Regions from separate parts of the Homo sapiens genome. Here regions 1, 2, 3 and 4 are each linked to region 5. Evidence: promoter capture Hi-C in 16 types of primary human blood cells and fetal thymus (Javierre and others, 2016). All regions are on one chromosome and are shown on one strand. Each heading gives the region's core, a stretch centred on a gene start or on the middle of the fragment in contact. The rest is flanking DNA. Distances are from core to core; before and after follow the strand shown. Region 1 overlaps OR4K14 (olfactory receptor family 4 subfamily K member 14). Region 2 holds the start of OR4K17 (olfactory receptor family 4 subfamily K member 17). Region 3 has its middle 17 kb from the start of OR4K17. Region 4 has its middle 19 kb from the start of OR4K14. Region 5 holds the start of OR4L1 (olfactory receptor family 4 subfamily L member 1).

Evidence for each region. Contacts are between HindIII fragments. The CHiCAGO score rates a contact against its expected background, and 5 or more counts as called.
Region 1: a fragment that was not itself captured here is called in contact with the fragment with the promoter of OR4L1 in region 5 in 2 of 17 cell types (neutrophils and fetal thymus); the score reaches 7.9 in neutrophils.
Region 2: a fragment that was not itself captured here is called in contact with the fragment with the promoter of OR4L1 in region 5 in 13 of 17 cell types (M2 macrophages, fetal thymus, M1 macrophages and 10 more); the score reaches 9.2 in M2 macrophages.
Region 3: a contact is called between a fragment that was not itself captured here and the fragment with the promoter of OR4L1 in region 5, in 6 of 17 cell types (fetal thymus, M2 macrophages, total B cells and 3 more). The highest score is 7.2, in fetal thymus.
Region 4: a fragment that was not itself captured here is called in contact with the fragment with the promoter of OR4L1 in region 5 in 3 of 17 cell types (neutrophils, M2 macrophages and total B cells); the score reaches 8.4 in neutrophils.

Annotation. Positions count from the first base shown.
Region 1 is chr14:20,015,602-20,018,301 of GRCh38, reverse strand. The region is part of intron 1 of OR4K14 (olfactory receptor family 4 subfamily K member 14); the gene reads left to right. Among named protein-coding and RNA genes, the nearest start is that of OR4K14, 2.4 kb to the left of the region's middle. The HindIII fragment of the contact is 1,890 bases long and covers 318-2,207 here.
Region 2 is chr14:20,108,933-20,111,632 of GRCh38, reverse strand. OR4K17 (olfactory receptor family 4 subfamily K member 17) reads right to left here and starts at 894. Exons shown (of 2, transcript NM_001004715.5): 1 at 741-894. The HindIII fragment of the contact is 427 bases long and covers 1,160-1,586 here.
Region 3 is chr14:20,091,935-20,094,634 of GRCh38, reverse strand. It overlaps the pseudogene OR4T1P. Among named protein-coding and RNA genes, the nearest start is that of OR4K17, 17 kb to the left of the region's middle. The HindIII fragment of the contact is 1,150 bases long and covers 734-1,883 here.
Region 4 is chr14:19,999,090-20,001,789 of GRCh38, reverse strand. No RefSeq gene overlaps it. Among named protein-coding and RNA genes, the nearest start is that of OR4K14, 19 kb to the left of the region's middle. The HindIII fragment of the contact is 4,026 bases long and covers 1-2,700 here.
Region 5 is chr14:20,058,749-20,061,596 of GRCh38, reverse strand. It overlaps OR4L1 (olfactory receptor family 4 subfamily L member 1), which reads right to left and starts at 1,552. Exons shown (of 1, transcript NM_001004717.1): 1 at 614-1,552. The coding sequence starts at 1,552. The coding sequence ends at 614. The HindIII fragment of the contact is 2,043 bases long and covers 997-2,848 here.

The sequences.
Region 1 (2,700 bases), core at 13-2,512, 43 kb after region 5:
AAGCAAAGCAATTTTGAATTTTCATTATCTTGACAACAGTCTGGTTGAGATGGGTGCTATTTGGGTGGACTAAAGAAGATATGGTAATTATTAATCCCTTTAGATTCTAAAAATCTATTACTATATCAAATTCTCATTATTAGACTATTTCACAACTAGAATAAGTTACTTTATTTCCCTGTAGAAGCCTTACAAGACTCTTCTTTTATGTTACATTCTTCAATTTTATAAAGGAACAACATTAAATGAAGGAGAGTCCTGCATCTTTTTTGTAATTTCTCATGAAGGATTCTATGTGATACCCCTTATTAAAAGCTTTATACAATATTTTCCTCTCAGTGAGGAGAGTGAGACTCCAGTTTATTGCTCATAAAAAAAACTAATTATGGGACCTATGCATCCTGTTCCATTTCATCTGAAAACTCAGAGCTACGTTTTAAAATAACGTGATGAACTTATTAGTCAATCATGTGTAATGGTGAAAACACCCTCAAAAATGATTGCATAGGTTTTATGCTCTGGTCTTTGTTGAGAGGTCTTGGAAATATCTTTTTCAGTGAAAGTCATCCTAACTGCATTTTCTTACTCATTAATCATCCTCCCTTTATTTTCCCACTCTCCCCACTACCCTTCCCATTGTCTAGTAACCATTTTTATACTATCTCCATCAGTTTATTTTGCTCAGCTTCCACATAATAATTTAAAATATTTTTAAAAGAAAGTCATTCTAAATCATCTCGGAGAAAGTTTATAAATAATAAATCTATAAATGATCTAATTCATTTATAGATAGATTTATGTATCTAATCAAATAGGCTTTTTATCCCAAATACAATTAATTTAAAAATGATAAGAGCAAAAATAAAAATCTGTGGGGTGAAGAAACTAAATAAAACCTAGGTTAAGTGATTTATTTCTTCTTGTATTGATTGGTTTTTATACCAAATAAAGTGAGATGAAGAACTGTGTTAGTGTCTTATAGATACAGTCTGAATGAGTGAGTGTGTAAGTGAGTAAATGAATAAGGAAGAAGATAGCCTGACTACTGCCAAGAGAGGTCCTGGAAGGGACTGAGATTTTCAAAATTCCAAAGGAAGTATTATGGAGATAACCAAGTTGGTAAAATAATTAAAAAATGATTGACTAAATATTTTAAATAGATGATTTTATATTATATAAATTGTACCTTAATAAAGTGGTTGGGAAAAAAAAGGAAATATTCCAAGCAGATTAAATATGGAAGAAATCTCAACATTATGGCTCTATAGGAAGCAATTTCTTGAGTTGAAATTTAACTGGAAAATAAGATGCAAATGCCTTGAAGAAGATCTACTTTTTCGCTCATTTAATCAAAAGCATTACAACACATTTTACCATAAATATTTTTATTCATTTTTTAAGAAAAAATGAATTATAATTACAACAAATTAAAAGCGTGATTATGAAGAAATATATTAATAATATAATACTCTATGTCTCTGTTAGGCTGATTATCAGTCTACACTCTTCTCTCTTCCTCCTTTCACCTTTTCTCTCTAGTTTGCTGATTACGGCCCATATTTCCAGCATATTGAAATATTCTATAAGTCTGTAAGTAAATCGTGTCAGATTTGTGCTATCTGTAAACTTGCAAATTATACATATCCAGGTTATTGATGAAGGGCAAGAAAGAGGAAAGAGTCCCACGTTTTGCAATTATAGGCTGTCCTCCCTGATAGCACAGATTAACACTTTAGATTAAAACTTTATGTAAACGAGCCATTATTTAGATCAAATTTTCCTCAGAGATATTATCTGAGAATATCAGAAAAGCCATTCTACAACCCACATATAACACAATAAATGAGACTTTTATAAAATTACTAAGCAACATACATAAGTTGGGTACATGATTTGGGAGCTCATCTGTATTTATACATCACCCCCCGCCCATAGTCGTTATATCCAAAACATGCGTTTTAGCTTAAAGTAATTTTTCTCCTTTAAATTTTGTCATTGAGGAACAAAATTTCCTTCTCTTGGATTCAGGAGAAAGACACGTTAATCATATTTATATACATAGATACATCTACCTATCAACATGCCTTTGCTAGGTTTAGTTTTGTGTTTGTGTGTGTAAATGGAGAGAGAGGAAGAGGAAGAGACACTTAATAATGTACATTCAGTTTCCCATGTCTTACGTGTTGACATTATTTTTAAGTGAAGCTTTAATTTCAATATTTAGTGCTTAACAATAATTAATTACCCATTGGGCAATGATATCGACAGAGATGGTGAGAAGATAGAATCCCTGAAAAAATCTTCATATTCTCAATCCTCCTAAGGAATTTTGGTTCACCTACTGCACTTGATTGATCCATGTTTTTATATGGACAAAGGCCATGGAAAGAAGGAAAAAAAAAGTTCCTACAACTCTCACCTATGCAGAAGTCTTCCAGAATGTCTAACTGCCCCTCAGGAATCACTGAAGTTTGAAAAAGGCAAATATACATGCTTGTTAGTATATAACAGTCTATATTTTAGAGTATCACTTGCAAGTTAAAAATTATACATAGATAACACTTAGTTGATCACTTTCATGTGCCAGGCAGTTGACAGGCATTTTCACTTACTTCTTTTCTTCCTTCCCCTCCCTCTCTCTTTCTTTCTAATTGATAAATGAAAATTATATATGTTTATAATGTACAACATGATGTTTTC
Region 2 (2,700 bases), core at 124-2,623, 50 kb before region 5:
CGACAATAACACCAAAGCAAAACTCCAAATAGAGCTGATGACTGGGGATAAAAATGCTTACATGCTCTTAAATTAGCAAGGGTTTTTGAGATGTGGTCATTTTAATGACTTTAATTTAGGAGCAGCCTAGTTCTCTCTGCAAGAGCCTCTAGAAAGATAGTTTCAGGAAATGTAAGTCCATGCCAAGAAGAAATACATACAACCAAATCATGAATACTCTTGTTTTCTGACTCGTTCTGTTCACTGTTAATGTCCAAATCAATACATTCTCAGTGGAAACTTTCCTAAGAAACTGACTCAGTCGATGATTCTCTCCTCTGTACCCTCATAGTACTACCCTTATAACCTATAATATAGTTATTTATATATACTTCTGTCTTCCTCCCAAGTTTGTGAACTATTTTAGTTTGCCATCTTAACACCTGGTAAAGTTCCTAGCATATACTTAAGCCTCAGTGTCATTTTCCAAATGATAATAAATTCAATCATTTATTGAGGTTCTGCTGTTTGCTGGACTCTGTACTAGGAACTTCACATATATCATCTCATTTAGTCTTCGTAAGTCTGAGTTTAATTTTCTTTTTGGTACATTTTCCAGAATGTCTTGAGCATTTTCTCAAACCTGAGACTATGCTTTTTCATGACTGATTATAACAAGTTCATTTAACAATTGCTATCTTGTGTGAACTGTGACAGGCAAATACATTGGCTTTATAATGTCAGCAATGTCTTCTGCTTACCAGTTCAGAAGAAGTCAGGGCCATGGGTTCAGAGGGGACAATATCGAGAAGGGCATGCACCTTCTCAACTTATAGTTCCATAGAAGAAACAAGTCACTAAAGTATCTAGACTCCAATCAGGGGAGTTCCTAATACCGTCTCTCTTAGAATTAGGTAGTGCCTAATAAGTGCTGGAAAACTCTGGGAATCCTCTATAGATGATTCTAACGGTGATTCTGTCTGCTGAGGGAATAATGCTTCAGGGCCACAGAGTATATTACGTAATCAATGATAGTTTAAATGTGACAGATGAAGTTAATTTCACTAGGGTGATTGGAGAGGTTTTGGAGCTAGTGTCCTGCTTTCTTCTTTATTTTGTCTCAGCTGGCTGTGGGACCATTTAATTTTGATTCCTGGTTGTAAAGTAATGAGATTAAGCTTAATGTAGGGGCACAAGGGGAGAAAAGGATGCTGAGGTGGGCCCTTAGGACTATCCTCTGGTAAGATAAATGCCACCTCTATCACTAGGTGATATAAAAGCAGTGGTTGAGGTGGGTTATAATGAGGAGAGGAAGATATACGGGTAAACCTATAGAAAGGTAGAAAGGGCATAAGAGAGGTGTAATGAAACAGACAATGAACCTTATGAAGAAAGGCATGTGCGGGTTTGGAGCTTAATTATGACATTGCAAATATAAGCCAAACCACTTCTCTGATGCTTCAAGCATTCATTAGTTTCATTCACTTGCTCAGTAATTAATAGCCTATCTCTTAAAGGGAACAATAGTTGAGCTACACTATATGTTAGGCATTTGGCTAATTATAGGGCTATAAATACAGGAACACACTCCTAGCCCCCCAGAAGCTTATAGACTAGTGATAATAAAAATAGCCAGTTCATACATAGTTTCCTATATACTAGGCATGGGGTTAAACTTACAATATACTTCCTTTCTTATGTATTTACATAGAATGAATAGAAATTTATTTATTAATATAATAATTACTATTTATACAGTTGAATTATTTGATTGATAATTGAATTATTATAAGCATTGTTTTTGTAACTTTTTTTTTAATTTGTAAAGTTTTTTTGTATTTTTAATTTCATTATTATTATACTTTAAGTTTTAGGGTACATGTGCACAATGTGCAGGTTAGTTACATATGTATACATGTGCCATGCTGGTGTGCTGCACCCATCAATTCGTCATTTAGCATTAGGTATATCTCCTAATGCTATCCCTCCCCCCTCCCCCCACCCCACAACAGTCCCCAGAGTGTGATGTTCCCCTTCCTGTGTCCATGTGTTCTCATTGTTCAGTTCCCACCTATGAGTGAGAACATGCAGTGTTTGGTTTTTTGTCCTGGTGATAGTTTACTGAGAATGATGATTTCCAAATTCATCCATGTCCCTACAAAGGACATGAACTCATCATTTTTTTTGGCTGCATAGTATTCCATGGTGCATATGTGTCACATTTTCTTAATCCAGTCTATCATTGTTGGACATTTGGGTTGGTTCCAAGTCTTTGCTATTGTGAATAGTGCCACAATAAACATATGTGTGCATGTGTCTTTATAGCAGCATGATTTATAGTCCTTTGGGTATATACCCCGTAATGGGATGGCTGGGTCAAATGTATTTCTAGTACTATATCCCTGAGGAATCGCCACACTGACTTCCACAATGGTTGAACTAGCTTACAGTCCCACCAACAGTGTAAAAGTGTTCCTATTTCTCCACATCCTCTCCAGCACCTGTAGTTTCCTGACTTTTTAATGATTGCCATTCTAACTGGTGTGAGATGGTATCTCGTTATGGTTTTGATTTGCATTTCTCTGATGGCCAGTGATGGTGAGCATTTTTTGATGTGTTTTTTGGCTGCATAAATGTCTTCTTTTGAGAAGTGTCTGTTCATGTCCTTTGCCCACTTTTTGATGGGGTTGTTTGTTTTTTTCTTGTAAATTTGTTGGAGTT
Region 3 (2,700 bases), core at 59-2,558, 33 kb before region 5:
TATGGTGTATATATACCACATTTTTTAAATCCCAGTCTCTCATTGATGGGAAATTAGGTTGACTCCATGTCTTTGTTATTGTCAATAGTGCTGCAATGAACATATGCATGCATGTATCTTTATAATAGAATGGCTTATATTCCTTTGGGTATATACCCAGTAATGGAGTTCCCAGGCTGATAATTATATTTTCAACAAAACCACACATGCCATAGAAATATAATAATGAAAAATTATATTTGATAATTTCAATATATGCAATATTATTTATAGAAATCAACAAATAAAATTAATATCAACATATTCTGAAACGTAATTTATATGGGTTCTGAACTAATATCCTGTCCTCATGATTGCTGATTAGAGAAGGTTTGTCTGGAGATGATGTGTTGGGTCCTCAGTTGATGTATAGATGCTTTCATCTCAGACTGTAAGTAATGGGGTTCAGTAAGGGTGTAACTGAATAAAACACAGAAAGAAATGTATCCACTGAAAAGCTCCTAAATGGCCAAGTGTAAATGTAGACACATGGCTCATAAAAATAGAGTGACTGCAGTGATATGAGCAGACAGTGTGGACAGAGCCTTGGAGAGTGCATCAGAGGATCGATGCTGCACAGTTACCAGAATAATAGTGTAGAAAATGAGCAAGACTATGAAGCAGATGAAAGACAACTGTCCACTTTTAGCAATTACCAGCAACTCCAGATCATAAGTCTCAGTGCAGGCAAGCTTCAGAACTAGAGGAAGGTCTCAAAATAAATTGTCCACCACACTGGGGCCACAGAAGGGCAAGGTGATAATAAAAACAATCTGGCTTATAGTATGCACAAAACCAACAGCCCGTGATAGCAGCACAGAGCCCATGAGTGGCCATGAGTACCCTGCAGTTCGTGATGGTTCTGCAGTGAAGAGGTCTGCATATTGCAATGTGCTGATCAACAGCCATAAATATGAGAAGAGTCATCTCACTGCCTCCTAAGAAGTGGAGATCTGAGCCATACAGCCCCATGAGGAAGTGGTTTTATTCTCCCTGAGAACGTCTGGACCATCTTAGAGATTGTGACTGTGGAAATAAACATACTGAGAAAGGAGAGATTTCCAAGGAGGAAGTACATAGGTGTTGAGCAAAGGGGAGGATTGGAGGTTACAGCGATTGCAGTGAGGTTTCCTGCCATGATTGCTGCATAGGCCAACAAAAATATTTAAGAAACAAAATTTCAAGTTCCCAAGTGCTGATGAATTCTAACAAAACAAACTCAGATTATTATTGAGCTGTTTCTTATATCCATCTGGTAGTTTTCAAAAGCTATTTGAAATAAAGATAGTCTGAAAAAAGTTATAATTTTACCTGTGACCATTTTGAAGATATGGACATATAGAAAGTATTTGATTCCTACAGAAAGAGAGAAGATGAACATATATGAAAAATACAATTTAATTAATTCAAGTGTCATTGACATTATTGTATTTTCTTCAATCAGAAAGGCACAAAAGATGAGAAATATATTATAAAATTCTGTAATTATGGTTTGCAGACATAGATTTTTGTCTCCACGTGCATTTATTGTCTCTATGATGAGTTCATGAGTTCTTGATGCATGAGTTCAATAGGTCCATGAGTAAAATTAGTCAAATAACTATTAGCCAAATGAGTTAGTCCAAGAGTGGATAAGAGCAAAGTTGCTTAGCTTTTTGGTGCCTAGTATTCATTCTTTTCCCTCTCTCTAATTTGAAGCATTCATACATGTGCAAGTGAGTTTACTAATACACCCAGTTTAACACATTATTTTATGGCACTTTCTTCTATCTGCTATACTATACTCTTACCTCTCTCTTTTATCCCCAAATGATATACCAATGATTTCACTTATTTCTGAAGCTTTAAGCTGGCTGCAGTCTGGCATATGTTCTTACTGTTCACCCCATGCTTTTATAATTATTTTAAAATGTTAACTTTCTAGAAAGTTTCTAGATAAAATCAAAAATGTTTCCCAGGGTCCAGATGTATTTTTTTTTCTTTTAGTGTAGTATTTTGTGTCATAATTTGGTTACTGTACAAAACTCCTACCATTACTGTGCAGACCTCTTGCTTATTTTCCTGAATCTCATGTTGTTGGGCTCCTGGCTGGAGTGCTTTCTTTCTTGTCCCTTTGCAATCTGTGTTTTGTAGACAGTCTCTGAGCAACCAACAATCCTTTATGTTTGTGTTTCCTTGGCTTTTAAATGCATATCTTCCTGTACCCAGTGCTTTCCTCTGATATTTCACACACATGCAAACTGCCTCCTGACTATTTTACTGGCTCTTACATCCTTGACACTTGTATTCTATATGTCTTCCCACATTGAGCTGACACTTTCGGCTCACTTCCACTAGGTTGGTGCAAAAGTAATTGCGGTTTTGCACCAACCTAATATCTTCCGTTTAGATTTGATTCAGAAATTTAATCCTAGCTTCCTTTTCCTTCTCTTTTATTTTTATGACAATTATTAGTAAACATCACATACATACACACACACACATAGAGAGAGGGGGAGAGAGAGAGAGAGAAAAGAGACGTACACAGATGCAAATGAACATATTTATACCACATTCTAGTTCTGGAGCACCAGAAGAGAAAAAAGAAAATCTATTCTATATTTCAATTTCATGGCTTAATAGCTCATCAGATATTCAGAATACATTATTTGGCTTAAATAT
Region 4 (2,700 bases), core at 150-2,649, 60 kb after region 5:
TTTTTTAATAAGAATATTTGGGGAAAAAATAAAATCAAAGGTAGAATTTCAGATTCCAGTAAATGGACATTAGATCTGTAGAGCTTTTATTTGAGAAAAGGGAATCCCTGTACCCTTTGCCATCAAGAAAACTCTTGTAGGACTCTAACCTGTGCACATAGCTACAGGAAAGATCACATTCCACTTGGGATTATTGCTAGTTCAATGACCTCTTAGTATATTTTCTTTGATATGCCTCTTCAGCTTACCATATTCTATAATACACTTATTTCCAGTTTATTATTGTAAATGATATATTTCTTATCTTAAATCATACCTGTGGGCATATAGGTACACATTATGCTTATAATGATCTAAATATAATTATAAAATGGTTATTCATGCATTGAAATGACTCTCCTTTGACTAGTCTATCAAATCAAATAAAAATCAACTATTTCTCTGAGATAAAAATAGCAATTTGTATGTTGTGTATATTTTTTCCATTTACATAAACAATAGCTGGAACATGCTACTGTATGAGTTGAAATGGGTGATGGTCCACGGAGAACTGCGGGGAGGGGTGTTTTTGGTGTTTTGTGATAGCTGTTATTCACTCAAATTCTATAGTTAAGTTGTGCCATACACAGAGCAACATTTTGAAGACTTAAGACATAATAGTTAGATAGCAATTTATAGTTTAAATATTGAATTTTATTCACCTTATTTTAGTTTATGCCACTGTTAAATCTATAAACGGTATACTTTCATTTAGGCAAATCGACGAGGATAAAAATATTAAAAAAATAATTTTAAACTAAACAAAAGTTAGCTTAAAAATAATAAAATTTACATATTCCTTATTTAAGGCAATGATGTAAATATAAAGATTACATCAATTATATGTAAGAGTTAAAAATATCAAGACACTATGAGGTAAAACTTCCAAATTTAAATATTAGTTTGTTGAACTGGTGTTTAAAAAATATTTATTAACTTTAGAAAATGGTCACATAATAAAAGAAAAAACAGGACACAAAACTATACTTAAAATATGATACAATCTATATATACAGAAAAGTTAAATTATATAAGACACTAGACTACATGTAAAGGCAATAAAATATTTATAAAAATTCACCTTAACAATTGAGACTTTCTTCTTACCTACTGAGAGTTCCTATGCATATCTGTAGGGTTTATGACATTTTATTCTTATATACAAAAATCCAAAAAATGGATTTTTTCTCTTTCTGCAACTTAATTATTACTTAACATTTCAGGTAATAATTTCTCTTAATTATAATCCATTTAACTTGTTTTGAGAGTAAAAGTTGTCTAGATATAACATCAAATAATCTCACTTTCAGAATCATGAAAAACATGAAGAAAATAATTATCTTCCCAATTCTCAGAAGCAAAGATTGTTAATTTTGCTAGCCATATACTCTTAAAACCTTTTAAAAATGCATTGTTTGATTTACACAATATAACATTGCATAGACAATATTATATTGAAAAAGAGCACAATTAGCATTGAATACTACTTCTGCAGGTAGGCCCTGATGACAGGAGCATGAAGAAAGGCTGTCAGTATAATAGATTTTAAGTCAAATTACATACCTTCTTGTCTGTAAATTCTTAGGTCCTGCAGTCATGGACTCCTGGCACATTAACAGTATACAACCATCCTAGATATTATAGACCAAGAAAATTAATGAATTAAGATGAAAACCCCTGGTTACACTGGCCACCATTACGAAATTTTGATGTTTAGGGATTTCAAGATTCAGCTACTCACAGTCAAATCACAAAGGAAATCATTAAAAATTTTTAATCAATCCTTTTTCAGAAATTATGAAACATAAAAATATATGGGATGTGAGGGTAGAAAGCAATTAATAGAAGAGGAAAAGAAGATCTGAGAGTTGTAATAATGTCAGCTGGATTTTATAGAGAGGTAAGGGTCCCCCTGGCCCACATGGCTGAGGTTAGTGGAAAGGGTGATGAAACATTAAGGAAAATTTGGCTTGAAGGGCCTTGCATTTCTTCTACCAGTACACCTTTGCTTGTACTGCTTTATCTGGAGTACCTTTTCTAATCAGAATTATTGACGTTAGATTTAATTTAATTTTGTTTAATATTACAAAAATGTCTTAAGTAAATATAAAAGTTTCCACTTTGTTCTTTTTCTGCCTCTATACCACTGAGAGGGGAAGAGAGGGAAGAGAAAGAGCGAGAAAGGCTTTCCTCAATACAGTAATATACCGTGGATGTGATTTCGTGTGCTATATTCAGCTCTAATTATTATTACTAATTTTTTTTAGATGGAGTCTTTCTCTGTCCCCCAGGCTGGAGTGCAGTGGCCCCATCTTGGCTCACTGCAACCTCCACCTCCCAGGTTCAAGCAATTCTCCTGCCTCAGCCTCCTGAGTAGCTGGGATTACAGGCCCATGCCACCACTCCTGGCTATAGTTCTAATTATTTTTAACTGATATATGATAATAAAACCATCAAATATGGTATGTTATAATAAAATATTCTATCAATGGGGTTGTAGATCATCTATTTTATCATTATAATAAAAGATTCTACAGTGAACAATTTGTTCATATTTCTTCAGACTGCTATTCAGTATATGTAAGAGACAGAGGCTGAAAGTAAAATTTCTGAGACAAATGTGGACAGGTATTTCTCCCCCAAAAAACTGTAGTAATGTAT
Region 5 (2,848 bases), core at 303-2,802:
ATTTTTATTTATTGAAGTTTGAAAGTCAGCTGTGTTTACTTATATTCCTCAGAGCATTTGGTTTCAAAAAGGGCTGTTCGTTTGTAGTTCTACTAAAATTGTCGTTCCATTGGCATTTTTCTCTGGCATCTTATAGTCACTGTGCTGTTGAATTTGTGGACTCATTCTTACTTTTTGCCTCCATTGATTCAAGAAACTAGAATTGCTTTTTCTGTTAACATTATTTAATTCATGACTTGTTCATGATACCTCATTTAATAATAGTATAAATTTATGAATAACATTATCAATATATATTAAAATAACCTCTAATAATATTCATATCTTCATGTATTCATTTACAGTTGTTTCTTTATTAATGAATATATTGAATGTATATGATAAAAATCCTCAATAATCTTTTTATGTTTATTTATGTCTATTTTTATGTCTATTTTGCTGCAGATCTCTATCCTTATGTTTATAAAAGTCTTAAATGTAAAATTTAAAGTAATTTAGTATTGTCTTTATGCGTTATTATTATAACATAAGAAAAGTGAAATGATGCATTATACATAATCTATTCAAACTATCTTATCGTAGCATTTAAAAGTTAATTATATAGTGCTAACATCTAGAAATTCTGTGCAGAACTAACATATTGGAACCGTAATTTTCTTATGGCCTCTTGCATTTTCTTATTTCTCAGGGTATAAATACTCGGATTCAGTAAGGGTGTGATAACTGTATAAAATACGGCAAGAGTTTTATTGCTTGCCAAACTACTGAATGGCCAAACATAGATAAAAATACAAGGTCCAAAGAACAGAGTGACCACAATGATGTGGGCAGACAATGTGGACAGCGCCTTGGAGAGCCCATGTGATGATTTTTTTGGTACACTGACCAGGATGACAATGTAAGAAACAAGCAAGAGGATGAAACAGGTGAAAGAGAGCAGCCCGCTGTCAGCAATGACAAATAATTCCAGGGTGTATGTTTCAATGCAAGCAAGCTTGATCACAAGGGGAAGATCACAAAATATGTTGTTTATGACATTGTGGCCACAGAAAGGCAAGTTCATTGTTAAAACTATCTGGCTTATGGAGTGTAAAAAACCAATTATCCATGAAAGTATCGCAAACCCCTTTAGCAGCTTGTGGCTCATGATTGTCCTATAGTGCAGGGGTTTACATATGGCTACATACCTGTCAAAGGCCATGATTATCAGAAGAGTCATCTCAGCACCCCCAAAGAAGTGCATGAAGAACATCTGGGTCACGCAGCCCCACACAGAGATGGTCTTGTGGTCAGTGAGCAAATCTATGATCATCTTGGGTGTTGTGGCAGTGGAGAGACACATGTCCAAAAAAGAGAGATTTCCAAGGAGAAAGTACAAGGGAGAATGAAGGGTTGACCTACATGTCACTGTGACCATAATGAGAATGTTTCCCATCACAGTAGCACCGTAGATCAGGGAAAATGTCACAAAGAAGAAAATTTGAAGTTCCCATCGTCCAAAAAATCCTAGTAAAATAAACTCGGTCACTAGAGATCCATTTTTAAGATCCATTTACTCAACTCAGAAAGGTTCCAGAAGTTCTTTATATACAAAGAGAATTAAAAAATAAGTCACAGTTAACACCAATATTTTCTTATTTCTATTAGTTGGTGATAATAGTTGATGATATGAGATCATATAATTTTAAATATATCAACACAGAGATTAGCTTAAATATTATATCACTTTGAAACAATTACTCTGCAGTAATTACAAATCATTTGAAGAAGTAGAAGTTCCATTTTCTATTGTTTATTCCATAAAATCATACTCTTATCAATGGATCTTGACTTTCTTACTCATTTGTTCACATATAAAGATTAGATACTAATTAATTACTTTTTATTTTGCCTTTTATTATTATAGTATTCTGTACCTGCACTTCTTGAGATTATGTTATCCCAATATATAAGGAATACAAGATTTAGAAAATGAAGAATTACATTGTTCTACATCTCTGAAGTAATTTATGAAGGTTTTTCTATGGTTCTAAACTAAATAAGCAAACAAACAAACAAAAAGCACACACACACACACACACAAATCAGGAGCAAATTATACATGGATGAAAGTATATAAATTTATTTAAAATAATTTTTCTTTTTAATATACATGTATACCTCTTTTATTGTGTTTCACTTTATTGTCCTTTGCAGTTATTTAATGTTTTATAAACTGAGGGTTTGTGACAACCCTGGATCCAGCAAGTCTATTGGCACCATTTTTCCAACAGCATGTGCTCACTTTATGTCTCTGTGTCACATTTTGGTAATTCCCAAAATATTTATTTCAAACTTTATTATTATTATTACACGTTATTTGATCTGTGACCAGTAATCTTTTATGTTACTATTTTCATTATTTTTGGGCACCACAAGCCGTGCCCATGTAGAATGGCAGACAATTGATAAATGTTGTTTCTAACGGCTCCACCAACCTACTCTTCCCTCATCTCTCTCCTTCTCTTCAGGCCTCTCTATTCTTTGAGATACAACAATATTGGATTTAGGCCAATTAATAGCTTTGCAATAGCCTCTAAGTGTTCAAGTAAAAGGAAAAGTTGCATGTCTTTTATTTGAAATAAACTAAGAAAAAACTGGAGACAGTTAAACGTTCAGTGGTTTCCAGGGGTTTGAATGAAGAAGGAGAAATGAAGAAATAAGAGAAGTACGGAGAATTTGCAGGGTATTGAAACAATTCTTATCTACTATACTTAGAAATACATAACACATTTGTCAAAACCCATAGCATGTATAACATCAAGAGTAAATCCTAATGTAAACTACAAATTTGGGGAGATAATAATGT